2 separate regions of the Homo sapiens genome follow, and region 1 is linked to region 2. Evidence: promoter capture Hi-C in 16 types of primary human blood cells and fetal thymus (Javierre and others, 2016). All regions are on one chromosome and are shown on one strand. Each heading gives the region's core, a stretch centred on a gene start or on the middle of the fragment in contact. The rest is flanking DNA. Distances are from core to core; before and after follow the strand shown. Region 1 holds the start of OR4D11 (olfactory receptor family 4 subfamily D member 11). Region 2 holds the start of DTX4 (deltex E3 ubiquitin ligase 4).

What was found. The method cuts DNA at HindIII sites, captures the fragments that hold promoters and counts their contacts. A CHiCAGO score of 5 or more calls a contact.
Region 1: the fragment with the promoter of OR4D11 here is called in contact with the fragment with the promoter of DTX4 in region 2 in 3 of 17 cell types (M1 macrophages, monocytes and M2 macrophages); the score reaches 8.5 in M1 macrophages.

What each region holds. Positions count from the first base shown.
Region 1 is chr11:59,497,868-59,505,540 of GRCh38, forward strand. It overlaps OR4D11 (olfactory receptor family 4 subfamily D member 11), which reads left to right and starts at 5,709. Exons shown (of 1, transcript NM_001004706.1): 1 at 5,709-6,644. The coding sequence starts at 5,709. The coding sequence ends at 6,644. LOC124902818 (U6 spliceosomal RNA) reads left to right here and starts at 1,089; the gene lies at 1,089-1,199. The HindIII fragment of the contact is 7,711 bases long and covers 1-7,402 here.
Region 2 is chr11:59,167,741-59,175,526 of GRCh38, forward strand. DTX4 (deltex E3 ubiquitin ligase 4) reads left to right here and starts at 4,392. Exons shown (of 9, transcript NM_015177.2): 1 at 4,392-5,066. The coding sequence starts at 4,856. It overlaps LOC124902601 (basic proline-rich protein-like), which reads right to left and starts at 5,705. Exons shown (of 2, transcript XM_047427951.1): 1 at 5,525-5,705; 2 at 2,335-4,990. The coding sequence starts at 5,705. The coding sequence ends at 4,182. It overlaps LOC124902675 (a long non-coding RNA gene), which reads right to left. Exons shown (of 4, transcript XR_007062682.1): 4 at 5,959-6,757. RefSeq lists enhancers at 3,529-4,069, 4,156-4,450, 5,078-5,906, 5,349-5,458 and silencers at 4,329-4,898, 4,959-5,008, 7,156-7,225. The HindIII fragment of the contact is 13,201 bases long and covers 1,617-7,786 here.

The DNA.
Region 1 (7,673 bases), core at 4,459-6,958, 330 kb after region 2:
AAAATGTGTGTTCCTAAGCATATGTGTCTGAGTGACTTCTTAATTACTCCCACTGAAACAACCTCACCATCAGCAGAATTTTTCCACAACTGCATCCAACTGTAATCCCTCTGATAATTCTCACACTAGTTCTGGGATTAAGGAACTGGTAAATATGATGGGACACTGTGAATCAGTGTGGAAGAGCCAAGAAAATATCATTCCCTAAGTCCTTTCCACATTAAGATAGAAGAGATGCCATTGAAATAACCGGCCTTCAGAGGGGTGTTGAGCAGAATTTTCTGAAGTTGGATGATTCCTGAGATTCATGTGAACATTATTTAAGATGCTGGAATTCTTGGAAGAAGATTGCAGATTTTAGGTAAAAAAATAAAAGTCTGCATGTGTGTGTGTGCCTGGGGTGTCTGGGTGTTTATGCATAGAGTGAGAAATAAGAAAAAAAATTGAAATCTAGATGTAATCATTAAGATTCACAAATACACTATGACTACAAATAATGTAATATGTATACAAGATGCTGCATTCTGGGAGAACCTTCCTTTAGTAACAGACAGCATAAGCTAGAAATAGTAACAAAGAGTACGTTGTGGAATGAGAGAAAGAGTTGAGGTCAATTTGGAATTGGGGAAAAGGCAGCTTTTGCTTTCTGCGACCTCTTGAATAGTACAGAGAAGAGATTTTTCTCAGTCTTCTTTTCTCTAGACGGATCTTCTCAGGCTGAAATCAACAGAGGTGATTCTTACCCTGAACTTAAACCTGCAGTAACAAACGCTCACAAAAGTTGAGAGACTCAGACAATAAACACCTGTCTACCCTTCTTTAGATCTAACACAAAAATAAGAAGTTTATAGTGTAGGGGACAGGGGAAAACTTCCCCTTCATCCTCTGAAAGTTCACTGAAAATCAGCTGACAAAGGCAGACAATTAGGAGAAAAGGAATACAAATTTATTTGATCATAGTTTTACATGACATGGGAGCCCTCAGAATGAAGACCCAAAGATACAAGGAAAATGTTCATTTTTATGCTTAGGTTCAACAAGGTGTGGACAGCCATGTAGAAATAGGATTGGACAAAAAAGGTATGATAGCTTGCTTTGGCAGCACATACTAAAATTGGAACAATGCAACAATGTAGAGGAGATTAGCATGGCCCCTTTACCAGGATGGCACGCAATTTAGTGAAGCGCTACATAAAAATAAAAATTTTAAATTTAAAAAAATGGTATCATCTAATGCTAATGGACAATAGTGAAACCCAGCAAGTCCTGTCTGTTTAGATCTTATTTGGCCTCTCTGTGCAGCAATTCCTTGCTCCTGGGTATGAGGCAGTGCTCGCTCTCTCTCTCTCTCTCTCTCTCTCTCTCTCTCTTTCTCTCTCTCTGTCTCTCTGGAATGGGGTTCTTATGACCTACAGTCAAACAAAGTAGACCTGAGAATTTATTTATGACCCACTCTTACACAGAAAGGTGGAGTCACAGGGAAGTTAGAAAAATATGTTTAGGTTTTATAGCTGGCTTTGGAGAAAAGGGGTTCTGGTTTCCATGACCCGCCTTAGGGAAGAGATATTGTAGTTTCTACAGCTAACCTTGGGGAAGAATGAAGTACCAGCCACCTGACACAGGAAGGCAGGAGGAGGTCAGAGAAAAACTTTTACTTCTGAGGCTACTTCTGAGGCCTTCATTATAGGGTATTGTTTTCTGAAACCTTATGATAGCAATGATTTTCTTTTCTCTGTCTTTCCATGCTGTCATGTTTGCACCCTTTCTTTCCAGTCAAACTTCCCACTCATTAGCAACTTTCATATATTTAAATAGTCCTGTAAGGCCAGAATGTCCTTTCTCCCCGTTCCTATATGTCCCAAATGTAAACACCACTTCCTCCATACAGCTTCACTGAGCCTCTTATTTGGAAATCATCCTCTTTTCACACTCAGCTCTTCATCTGTCCTTAAATTGTCCCCATCACTCCCATGTAACTATTAGATTTCAATGCTTTTCCCACTGTATTTAGATTATATTCCTTTCTCTCAAATAACCTAGAACTCTTCCCATACTCCATCAATATTTGCTAAATAATTGGATAGATTAAAAGTAGCAGAAGGGTGGAGCAGAAGCTAGGGGATGTTGTCTTTAAATTACCAAAGGCAGTTTGTGAACATGAGACCTATTTCTTTCAGACCAATAGTCCTGGCCTGGGGTCTGGGATATGGTTTACCTTCCACCCATGTGTGTGTAAACAATGTGCTGTTTACATGGGGGTCCCTTTGAAGAGCTTAATAACTAAATTGGTTTTCTTCACATCTCTAGTAACCATACTGAGTTGGTGTTCCTAGTGACCATTTCCTCTCTCTTTAAGCTAATCAGGATTGATAACTACCATTTAGTTCAATACACTCCATTTACTGATGAGGCTTCACTGTTAGGGTTACCCAGCATAGCACTAATCACGACAGATAACCAGCCCATATGCTGAGAAGAGTACACAAGTTAATTCTCCAACCCTCTTAACTTCCCTGTGAGGTGAGTATTATTATTATCCCCATCCTACAGATGAAAAAATAGAGGCTCAATGAGGTTATGCACTTGCCCAAATCACACAGTGGCAAAGCCAGGACTTGAACCCAGATGAGTCTTGATCCCAGAGCCCTTGCACTGAACAATTTCTCTGGTCTGCTAATAAGATGTCAGAGAAGAAGCCAAACCAAGCAAGTGCTCTTTTTACTGTCATACACTGTCACGACTCTCTGGGTCACTGGAAGGCAAATATCTCCTAATTCCTTCAAAACAGCAAATGTTCTGATGAAGTGGTTGAGGACACACGTGTGGGAAACATGCAGCTCCTCTAAAAGAATGTCCATAAATATATTGGAGATATATTTATTGAAGAAGCTGTGTGTGGGAATTATTAACCTGGAGTTGTCTTTAAGGTAGCACACATATAATTACACTTATTACAGATTAGGCAACGCTCTAAGTACTGATGCTCTACATAGATTAACTTATTTAACCCTCACAAAAGTCTAATGAAGGAGATGCTATTGTCTCCAAATTACTGATATAGAGAATGAGGTCAAGGGATGAAGCAATTTGCTCATGTTAGCACAACCAGTAAGTACTCAGCTGGGATTTGAACAGGCTGCGTGGTGCCAGAGTCTAGTAGGCATCTACCTCGAAGGTAGAATACTTCTTGGCAGCTTGTTTTCGGATTTACCCATTAAATAGATTTTGGACAAAATTGCCTAGAGAGGAAAGAAAACTTGAAGACAAAGCGAGCTAAGTGAGAAGAAATATCTTCATTTAAATTGGAGAACACACCCAAAGAACGGGAAAAAAGGGACTTTTGCCCTTCATTTGTTTCTAATTATGGAAAGAAAAAGGAGATAAACTAGGAAGAAAGAAAATAAGGCCCATTACAAAGATTTACCAAAAAAAAAAAGAAAGAAAGAAAGAAAGGAATTCAAAAGCAACACAGTTATAAGGTAAGTGTATGTGTAACAGTTTTTTAAAAAATTGCCAGCCAGGCGCGGTGGCTCATGCCTGTAATCCCAGCACTTTGGGAGGTCAAGGCGGATGGATTACCTGAGGTCAGGATTTCAAGACCAGCCTGGCCAACATGGTGAAACCCTGCCTCTATTAAAAATACAAAAATTAGCTGGGCATGGTGGTGGGAGCCTGTAATCCCAGCTACTCAGGAGGCTGAGGTGGGAGAATCGCTTGAACCTGGGAGGCAGAGGTTGCTGTGAGCCAAGATTGTGCCACTGCACTCCAGCCTGGGTGACAGAGCAAGACTCCATCTAAAAAAAAAAAAAACTGCCAAAATATTTTCAAATTGATTGTACCATTTTACATTCCTACTGGAGTTCCATTGGTCTACATCTTTGTCCACTCTTGATATATCAATCTTTTTCATTCCAGTGACTCTAATGTATACTATTTTTAAATTACAACGTGGTTTCAATTTATATTTTCTCAGTGATAAATGATGTTGAGCCTTTTCATGTGCTTATTTGCTCTCTCTGTGTCTTCTTGCTGAAGTGTCTGTTCAAATAATTTGTCCTTTTTTCTCTTCTTTTTTTTTAACTTCTTTTAGTGACTTCATTTTGTTAAAATAATTTGTCCTTGTTGCTTAATTGGTTGTTTGTTCTCATACTATTGAATGTTAAGAGTTACAGCCATTCCACTCCTAGCTACTTACCCAAGAGAACTGAAAACATATGTCCACACAAAGACCCAAATGTGAATGTTCATAGCAGCTTTATGAGTAATATTCAGAAGCCACAAATAACCCAAATGTTCACCTACAAGTGAGTGGATAAGCAAACTGTGGTATATTCATACAATAGAAAGGAACAAAATAGCAGTACACACAAAACAACGGATGAATTTCATGGTTGAAAGAAGGCAGACAAGAAGAAAATACAAATAGTAGAATTTCACTTATAGAATATTATAGAAAATACAAACTAATGTATAATGACAGAAAGCAGATCAGTTGTTGCCTGAAGAAGGAAGGGTAAAGGGGACAGGCTACAAAGGGGCACAAGGACATTTTCTGGGTGATAGATATATTCACTCTCTTAACTATAGAGATGGTGTCACAGGTATATATGTCAAAACTTATCAGCCGGGAGCAGTGGCTCATGCCTGTAATCCCAGCACTTTGGGAGGCCGAGGTGGGTGGATCACAAGGTCAGGATTTCGAGACCAGCTGGGCCAATATGGTGAAACCCTGTCTTTACTGAAAATACAAAAATTAGCCAGGCGTGGCGGCACACGCCTTTAATCCCAGCCACTCAGGAGGCTGAGGTGGGAGAATCACTTGAACCTGGGAGGCAGAGGTTGCAGTGAGCCGAGATCACGCCACTGCACTCCAGCCTGGGCGACAGAGTAAGACTCTGTCTCAAAAAAAAAAAAAAACATTATCGAAGTGTGAATTCAAATATGTGCAGTCTATGGTATGTCAATGATAGCTCAACAAAAATTATTTTTTAAGAAAGAAATTGAAACAACAGAAGAGAAGCTCTGAGTAATATTTTTATTTCCATTGCTAAGGAGCTATTCACCACCCCGGGGTTTCAGTACCTAAAGTAGATTAAAGTAAAGAAAGAAACAAAGCAGTCCCCTTAAAGAAGAATAGAGCAATAGAAACAAATTTTATGGCTTAAACATTTTCTAATTTTTCATGGAAATAAGTTTGTGATTTAAGAAGAGAGGGGTGCTGCTTCCATACAATTCAATCCAGTGGGGGGCCTCTTTGCAGACAGGGGTTCTTAGAACCATTTAAATGGAGCATCCAGTCTGGGAAAAAACAACAAAATCCTCAGCCCTGTGAAACTCAAGGTGTTCTAGTCACACAAAGTAAGCACTGCCTTATTCTCACAACAAACTAATCCCATTTTTATATTTCCCATGCCACAATAGTCTCTTTCTAAATAATTAATATCCCCCTCTGTTTATCTTGAATAATGTCCTAAGTATCTTGAATAACTGCAACATTATTTTTATACATTTTTTAAAATTGTAATTTATATAAGTGTATGCATGATTGTATAATAAGATGTCATTTTACATGCATTGGCAATAAACTTGAAATTGTAATATCTCACAAGTTTTCAGACCTAATACTTGAATCTGTTAAGAGAGAGTAAACACTTTCTGAAATAACATTATTTTTTCCAAGATATTCAGGAAAGAGAAAACATGATTCAATGGAGTTGGGAAATGTCACCAGAGTAAAAGAATTTATATTTCTGGGACTTACTCAATCCCAAGACCAGAGTTTGGTCTTGTTTCTTTTTTTATGTCTTGTGTACATGACGACTCTGCTGGGAAACCTCCTCATCATGGTCACCGTGACCTGTGAGTCTCGCCTTCACACCCCCATGTACTTCCTGCTCCGCAATCTAGCCATCCTTGACATCTGCTTCTCCTCCACAACTGCTCCTAAAGTCTTGCTGGACCTTCTGTCAAAGAAAAAGACCATATCCTATACAAGCTGCATGACACAGATATTTCTCTTCCACCTCCTTGGTGGGGCAGACATTTTTTCTCTCTCTGTGATGGCGTTTGACTGCTACATGGCCATCTCCAAGCCCCTGCACTATGTGACCATCATGAGTAGAGGGCAATGCACTGCCCTCATCTCTGCCTCTTGGATGGGGGGCTTTGTCCACTCCATCGTGCAGATCTCCCTGTTGCTGCCTCTCCCTTTCTGTGGACCCAATGTTCTTGACACTTTCTACTGCGATGTCCCCCAGGTCCTCAAACTCACTTGCACTGACACTTTTGCTCTTGAGTTCTTGATGATTTCCAACAATGGCCTGGTCACTACCCTGTGGTTTATCTTCCTGCTTGTGTCCTACACAGTCATCCTAATGACGCTGAGGTCTCAGGCAGGAGGGGGCAGGAGGAAAGCCATCTCCACTTGCACCTCCCACATCACTGTGGTGACCCTGCATTTTGTGCCCTGCATCTATGTCTATGCCCGGCCCTTCACTGCCCTCCCCACAGAAAAGGCCATCTCTGTCACCTTCACTGTCATCTCCCCTCTGCTGAACCCTTTGATCTACACTCTGAGGAACCAGGAAATGAAGTCAGCCATGAGAAGACTGAAGAGAAGACTCGTGCCTTCTGAAAGGGAATAGAAAACAAATCCAGGCCAGGCGCGGTGGCTCACAGCTGTAACCCCAGCACTTTGGGAGGCCAAGGCGGGTGGATCATGAGGTCAAGAGATCGAGACCATCCTGGCCAACATGGTGAAACCCTGTCTCTACTAAAAATACAAAAATTAGCTGGGCATGATGGTGCGCACCTGTAGTCCCAGCTACCAGGAGGCTGAGGCAGGAGAATTACTTGAACCCAGGAGGCAGAGGTTGCAGTGAGCCAAGATTGCGTCACTGCATTCCAGCCTGGCAACACAGCAAGACTCCATCTCAAAAAAAAAAAAAAAAAGAGGCCGGGCGCGGTGGCTCATGCCTGTAATTTTTTTGGGAGGCCGAGGCGGGCAGATCACGAGGTCAGGAGATCGAGACCATCCTGGTTAACACGGTGAAACCTCGTCTCTACTAAAAATACAAAAAATTAGCTGGGCGTGGTGGCAGGCGCCTGTGGTCCCAGCTACTCGGGAGGCTGAGGCAGGAGAATTACTTGAACCCAAGAGGCAGAGGTTGCAGTGAGCCGAGATCGCGCCACTGCATTCCAACCTGGTAACACAGTGAGACTCTGTCTCAAAAAAAAAAAAAAAGAAAAGAAAACAAATTCAGCTCTTCATCACCAAGGACACCTTATATTATTTTTCCCATGAATTCACATTTACATACTCAGATACATTGTCAGTAAACCAACTATACTGACTATGAACAATTTGTCTTCCTATTTCAGTTAGTAGATAACTGATAACCTAAGCTTCTGTGCAGCATGAACTAACTAGTGTTATAGGAGTGAACTGACTGTTACTTTTCCAAAGACCAAGTAACCTTATGTCAATCAAGACAGCTATATGGCAGGCAGATAAGATGATTAAGTCCAACATTTTTTTCAGAAGATAAGGAAATAAAAGCCCAGAGAGATAAAGTGATGTGTTCAAGGTCTTATATTAAGTTAATTACAGAGACATCTTCAGATGCTCAACCCATTGTTCTTCCACCACATGAATGTAATTTATTACATTGTTG
Region 2 (7,786 bases), core at 3,142-5,641:
ACAGGCTCTGTCTGTTTCTTATAACTGCATGTGAATTTAAATTATTTTAAAATAAAAAATTAAAATGCAATGCATCTTCTGCCTGGCTTTTTCTCTTGCCTCTCGTTTATTTGGAAACTAACTTCTGTGTTGTGAGAATGCCCATCAATCACATGGACAGGCCATGTGTAGGTACTTGGGCTGATAGCCCTAGTTGAGTGCCCAGATAACAGCCAGTATCAAGCAGTAGACTTATGAATGAGCAAACCTACAGATGATTCCAGCCACCTGCTTTCCTGAGAGCTCCCTTGAGCTAATGCTGTGTGTAGCAAAGACCAGCTGTCCTTGGAAGCCCTCCCCAAAGTGCAGATGTGTTTGAAAAATAAACGCTTGCTGCTGTTTTTAGCCACCAGTTTTAGGGTGCTTTATTACATAATAATAGGTAATTGAAAAAAAAAAGGGCTTTGTCTATGAACATTCCACAGAAAAAGAAGAGAAGCGGCTTTTTCACTGAATCTTTGTGTTAGACAATGACGACCTTTTTTGAAGTATCATCAAATTGTACCTTTGAACAGTTCAAAACTGGCTTCATAGTCTCAATTAGTGAGGTTTTATTATAGCCATCATATGTTCAAATTAAAAATTTGGCATATCATTTGGTTAAAGATTTTTATGCCACTTATGAGTACAGGAGACAATTTGGGAGATATAGTTTGGATACTAAAATGGAATGTCGGCCAGGCACGGTGGCTCATGCCTGTAATCCCAGCACTTTGGGAGGCCAAGGCGGGCGGATCACCTGAGTCCGGAGTTCGAGACCAGCCTGGCCAACATGGTGAAACCCCATCTCTACTAAAACTACAAAAATTAGCCGGGCCTGGTCACAGGCACCTGTAATCCTAGCTACTGGGGAGGCTGAGGCAGGAGAATCGCTTGAACCTGGGAGGAGGAGGTTGCAGTGAGCCGAGATCATGCCATTGCACTCCAGCCTAGGGGACAAGAGCAAGATTTTGTCTCAAAAAATAAATAAATAAATAAAATGGAATTTCTGAGATTTTCAGGGTTTATGGTACAGATTATTTGAAATTAGGATTGTGTTAGAAGATCTAAGAAATGTATATACATATATAATAATTATTTATACATAATTATAAATTATTATTTCTAATTGGGTCATGATAAACTATAAATTATCATGGATTATTAAAATACAAATATTTTACATCTATAATTTACTATTAATGTCAAGTCATACACACACAAACACGAGGGGACTTCCAAAAGTTTGTGAAAAATAAAATTAAAAAACAAAATAAAAAATGTACACTTTATTTCTCAACATAAGCACCATCAAGTTCAAGATATTTTGTAGGTGATGATATGAATCATTTAGTCCATCACTAAAGAACTGAGTGTCCTGGGACCCTAACCATATCAATGCAGTTTTACTTTACTATAGAAAAACAGATGCTCTTTAAAAAATTTTTTAAGATTAGGAAACAAAAAGAAGTCAGAGGAGCCAAATCAGGACTGTACAGCAGATTAAAAGATTTTCCATCAAATTGCTCACAAAAGTGCGTTTGTTTGATGAGAGGAATGAGCATGAACATTGCCATGGTGGAGAACGACTCTGGTGAAGCTTTCCCAGGTATTTTATCCTAAAGCTGTTGCTAATTTTTGCAAAATACTCTCATATTAGGCAGATGTTATTGTTCTCTGGCCCTCCAGAAAGTCAGTAAGTAAAATGCCTTGAGCATCTCCAAAAAATTGTTGCCATGGTCTCTGCTTTTGACCAGTGCACTTTTGCTTTGACTGGACCACTTCTACCTCTTGATAGCCATTGCTTTGGTTGTTCCTTGTCATCAGGATTATACTGGTAATGTTTCATCTCCTGTTACAATTCTTCAAAGAAATGTTTCATGATCCTGATCCCACCCATTTAAAATCTCTATTGAAAGGCCTGCTCTTGTCTGTGGCCAACCTGGGTGCAATGGTTTTGGCACCTATCAAGGAATGGAAAGTTTAATTTCTTTGTCAGAATTGTGTAAGCTGAACCAGTTGACATATCTATGGTGTAGGCTATTGTTTTGACTGCTAATCCTTGATCCTCTTCAGTAAGGGCATTGTCTTACCCTTCTTAGTGTCTCAAACTAGATCCTGTTCAGACATGTTATAACAAGTTAGTATGAGTTTATTTGGGTGCAAAAAAACAATTTGAACTACCAGCCTAGTTTTTTCATAATATGCATTTTCCATAAAATTTTAAAGACCCCTCTCATTTGTGTGTATATGTGTGTATGTGTGTGTGTGTATTCACTTCCTCTTGCAAATGAATCAGACTACATACAAACCTTCTCACATGTCATAAGATATTTTTATTCTGCTGTAATACTCTGTTGTGTTTAACATGGAAGATACAAGAAGACCAGATACAAAACTAGGCTGGACATAGGCAGGTAGGCGTCAGTTTCCTTCTGCCTTCCATTCGCCTTTCAAACAGCTCATCTAACATTTGCTGGTAGCCTGCTTATCTAGTTTAGATTTTTTTCACCTTGGAATTTCTGGCTTAGCTGGTCAGGTGCTATATTTTCGCTGGTACTTCCAATATCCCCTTGAATCATTACTCTTCACTTTTTGATTCATACTTACCAAGACTATAAGAAAGTTTCCTGAGTTTTGATACTTTCCATTTTTATGACTAGAAATAAAAGTAGCCCAATAAATTTTTAAATTACTTTTTCTTCAGTTTGCCTTCTGTTTCTTTTCCAGAAAATTCTACCCCCATTTTCTCCCTTCCCTTCTTTCACACTGAGACACTTCTACATTGCCTGTTATTGTGCCACCTCTGTGTTGTATAGGACATGCTATGGAACAGGCATTTTCTTTTGAGACAGCCCAACTAAATTTTGAATACTGGTTTCCCCTCTAACTAGCTATGTAATCTAGGGCAAATAGTTTAAATTCCTTAAGTCCTGTCATTTGTAAAATGGTAATAATAATGGCCTATGATATAATTAGTCGAGGTATCCTTGTTTTCTTTTTGTTCTTCTAATTCTGAAACTCGACATTTTAATGAGTGGTATTGTTTAGGTTGGATTAGGAACAGTCCCCAAATAAGGGAGAGGCCGACTAGGCATTTTGGAGGCCAAGCTGTGCAAGAAGACCAGAAAGAACAAAGCTCAGAGGTTCCTTGAGCCTGGTGCCTTTAGGGGCCTGAAGAAGAACAGATCTCACACTTTTTCTTTTGCTTTGTATTTAGAACTCTGTTGGGAGAAAGATAAAGGTAGAAGGATGCAAAATTCTAACAATGGGAGAAATGACAGCTGCAAGGAGAGGGAGGGGGAAGCAACTCTTCTAAAACATAAAAGGGTCATATGATATTTATGAAAAAATTGATTATTTCAAAAAGATTCACAATCCCATTCTCTAACACATAATCTATTTTTACTTTCCCGCATCCTATAACTTGGATCTTGATAAGACTCGATTCGTTGTTTTATGTGGTTTGCAATCTCAACAAAACAAAATTTGTGTTCTTTGACAAGGATAATGCATAATCCTGACTTCAGTCTTCCCTTTTAGTCAGAACCTACCTATTTAAGGTTATTTTCCATATTAACTATTGATGATCAAAATAAGTCTAACTCGTGTTTTTCCTAGTGTTTCATAATTTTAGTTACAGAAACGATGCAGATAAAATTAATCTAACATGCGTCTTCCTGACTCTAGTACGTTGAATCTGGCCAGAAAAACCACATTTGCTCTCTACGTAGGTAATATAAATCCATCATTAGCGAAATTGCTGCATCCCTTTGGACTGGGTCTCATTAGCAGAGGTTGGAGTGGCCACTGGCCGGCACACGACACTTTAGGCCAGCAGGGGGCGGGTAAGCTCCAGGGCACTCGCCCGAGCAGCAGGGGGCGTGTCTTCTGCTTCCTTGACGGACAGCTAAGGATGCGGGAGAGGATGAGGTAATAGGAGCCGGGGCAAGGAAGGAGTTGGGGTGCGCGCGCGTGTGTGTGCGACTGTGAGTGTGCCAGTGCGTGCGCAAGCCCCGAGACAATGCGTGTCTCCAGTTCGCGCTGCGGACACTGATCATGCTGCATTAAGGAAAAAAAAAGAGAGAGAGAGAGAAAATTACATTTGGGGGAAGGAGGCTGCAAAGTTGCGGCTGGGCGACAGTGGTGGTCCCGGGGCCGTGTCATGGCGGGTCGCTTCTCTGCATCAAGGAACCAGGGAAACACACGCGGGCGCGGGTTTGCCTTAGCGCCCTGCTTGGGAGGGGTGGTTCATTCTGGAAGGAACTGAGCAGAGCCACAGGCAGGGGGAGCTCTCCCAGCGGCGGGGACTGCAATTCGTGCGGCGAAGGGGTGGGGAGGGAGGGAGAGAGGGGAGGGGACCAGAGCGTGCCATTCCGAGCGCGGCCGTGCGGCGAGATCCCACCCCGGCGTCTGCAGAGGCCGAGGCGCAACTGGTGCGAGGGCTGGGTCCTTGCCTCGCCGTCAGCCCCAGCTCGCGGCCGCCGGGGCTCGGGCCGCGCGCCCGCCGAGTGGCTTTTGCAAGGCGGGGGCCTGTTTGCAGAGAGCCGGGCATTTGCATGAAGCGACTCGACCCCACAGAGCAGCGGCAGCAGCAGCGGACCCCGGCGGCGGCGGCGGCGCGCGGTCCCAGCCAGGCGGCCCCGGTGTCCCGGCCCCGGTGGATGCACGGCTGGGGAGGAGCCCATGGGCCGGAGCTGAGGCTGCCCGGGGCGGCGGGGCGCGGGGCAGGGGGCGCGGTCGAGGCCCGGAGGCGGCGGCGCAGGAGGAAGCGGAGGAGGTCGGGCGCTCGGGGCCCGGGAGGCGGGCCGCGCAGCGCCGCAGCCCCGGGCTCGCCATGCTCCTGGCCTCGGCCGTGGTGGTCTGGGAATGGCTGAACGAGCACGGCCGCTGGCGTCCCTACAGCCCAGCGGTGAGCCACCACATCGAGGCGGTGGTCCGCGCCGGCCCCCGCGCGGGGGGCAGCGTGGTGCTGGGCCAGGTGGACAGCCGTCTCGCGCCCTACATCATCGACCTGCAGTCCATGAACCAGTTCCGCCAAGACACGGGTGAGCCAGCCGCCCCTGACCCCGCCCCGCCTGCTCCCACCTTCCCAACCTGCCAAGGTACCTCCCTCCCTGTGAACCCACCTTGGCCACCTAGTCGGCACTTCTGTGCAGCAGTGTCACCAAGAGGTGGTGGTGGGAGGCGATTCACTCCGCTGAATCCTCGCAGGATCCTCCCTCCCCCTTAAACATCCATGCAAATAGTATCAGTGTTGTGGTTTTGCAAACCCAGCTTCAACCTAGTCGGTAACAATCCACTCCCCACCCCTTTCATGCCCCCGCTTTTCAGCAGTTGGTGGCCCTAAGTCTTTCTATGTAGAAATTCTAGGGCCGCCCCAGACTACAGGCAATCCCAGCCCTTCGCAAAGGCTTCCTGCCCTCATCCCGTGGCGGCCGGCACCTTGGCTGACCTGACCCTGTTTTGCTTCAGGCACGCTGGGGCTTGCCACACGTCCCCTCACCCCCGATCTCACTGCCTCTGCGTCTCCTGTGTGGGATGCCTCCCCGCAGCTGGGTCCTGGGTGTGGGAACTGGGGGAGGAAGAAGGGATTCCCCGGAGGTTCTCGCTACAGTCGGGTAAGGGAAGCGCCGGGCTCCCTGGGAGGAGAGACTAGGGCTGGGGTACCCTGGACGCCGCGGCATTGGCGAATGCCTCTGCTACACACTACATGCGCGGAAGCAACAGGCCGGAGCAGATGGAGAGAGGAGGGGGAGGCTCGGGGCTTCGGAATGCATGGCAGGGAAGCCGCTCCCTTTGTCTGCGGAGGAGGAGGACGCAGATTCCTAAGGAGAAACTGTCCCCAGGCTTCCTCTTGAAACCATAGCCTGTAAGGAACCCATGGTCTCCTGGAGCGCCAAACTCCTATCTTTTCATGAGAATCAAGTTGTCACTGTAGCCAGCACAAACCCGCTTCCCAGCTGACCTGCCTTTCCAGGTCAGAGCCAGGAAGGGAGCCTCCAGGATGGGGCCTTGGGGGGTGGGGAGTGGGGGTGCTGCCCAAGGGAGAGCAAAACTGCCTCTCTTTGCTCGGTCCTTGCTTAATCGATGACCCGGGAAGAGTTTCTGCCTCCGTCAGTGACAGGTGGGGAGGGGGCCATTGTTTCTGGAATTCTGGCTCGGCTTTCCCAAGAGTGCAACCGAGGAGCCTGGAGAGGCCGGTGTGCTGGGGAGGACGTAGAGAAGATGACTCGGAAAGGCCCTCCCCAGTGAACAGCTGTTTGAGCAGAGTCTCTCTGCTTCCTTGGAAAGCCCCCACATCCTGTGTGCTAATTAGGATTGTCATGGGAAAGGGGTATCTTTCCACCCTCATGTCCCCATCTTTAGTCATAACTCCCAGCAACCCCTTTGCCAAGGACTCTGCAGACACTGGCTGATTGAGGAGAGCTTTCTGGGGAGAGGATTCTGGAAGTGTTAGAATCTGGAGGGGCTTCAACCGTGTGTGGAGCTGAGGGAGACTGGGAGGAGCAGAGAATAGAGAGGAATGTGGGGAGATTGAGAAAGAGGATTAAGTGTGGCTGAGGGGGAGGGAGAGAATGTCATTGCGCAACTTGGGTAAAGGTTGTGGAGGTGAGGGTGGAGGCATCAGAAGGTGAGGGTGGAGGGGGTGTGTGTTGGGCGGAGCTGAGCCACGGAGGTGGGACCAGAGAGAGAGAGAGAGACCAGCAGTTAAAGCATCTGACAGGGGATTCCAGTCCTGGAAAAAAAAAAAAGCAGGTGTTACCTTTTCTATTTCAGAGTAAATCTCTACAGCATTTGGAAAACCACCCTTGTGACAGAAACGTCTCAGCCCCTTTCCCACATTTGGAAAGGGCAAAGGTGGAATCTGTGTTTGGGGGTACTTAGGATAGGCAAGGTATCTACAAAGGTTCATGACCCTTTCTACAGAAGCGAAGTTGTAGAGAAAACTGGGTGGAAGGAAAGAAGCTACGTTTCCCAGGTCTGATCACTCTTACCTGAGGACTGCCTGGTGGTGAGCAATTTAGTCAGAGGCTGGCGCTCCCTGGACTTTAAACCTCAGGCAGAGAACTTGCCCTGAATCATTTTAAAGGCTGCCTCAGGGTGTGTTTATCATCAGACTGCTGTGGTTTCATCCGCTCATTGCTAGAGTCAGTCAGCCATCCTGAATACCTCTCTGCTGTGCGCCAGGCCCTGTGCTGGGTGCTGCGGACACTGGGCTGAATTCCCAGAAAAGCTGGGTCTGTCAGGGCGCTTGTCAAAGAAGAATAGAAGAATCTCTGGGTTTCTTAGCTCTGAGCCCCCTCCTCTCCCTTCTCCACCAACACACTCATAGTTCCTCTCAATCTCATTGATGAGGCCATGACAGGGTAGGAACTTTAAACCAGTGGCTCCCAGGCAACCTCAGCTAAGCCCTTGCAATGTTTAATTAAATTACCCACCATCCTTAAGCCATAATTCAAAGCTGGGAACCAGAAACATCCCCATAAACAAAAGAGATCTGGAAGTCCCCTGCCCAGAGGCGATTCCTCTCCTTTTTTGTTGCCTCCTCTGTATGGGGACATTTCCTGACATGAGAGCTTTGTCTTTTTAGAAGTTGCTTGCTCTGCTGCTGATAGAGTCCTCAGGCTCTCCACTCGCCTGGGCTCCTGACCTCATCCAGCCTGTCTCCAGGGAGATGGCTGGGAGGTCCCAGACACCCGTCTGCCCGCCTCTGTTTGCCCTGGGCCCTTCTCCTTCCCCAGACTGCCTAGAGGTCTGATCTTAT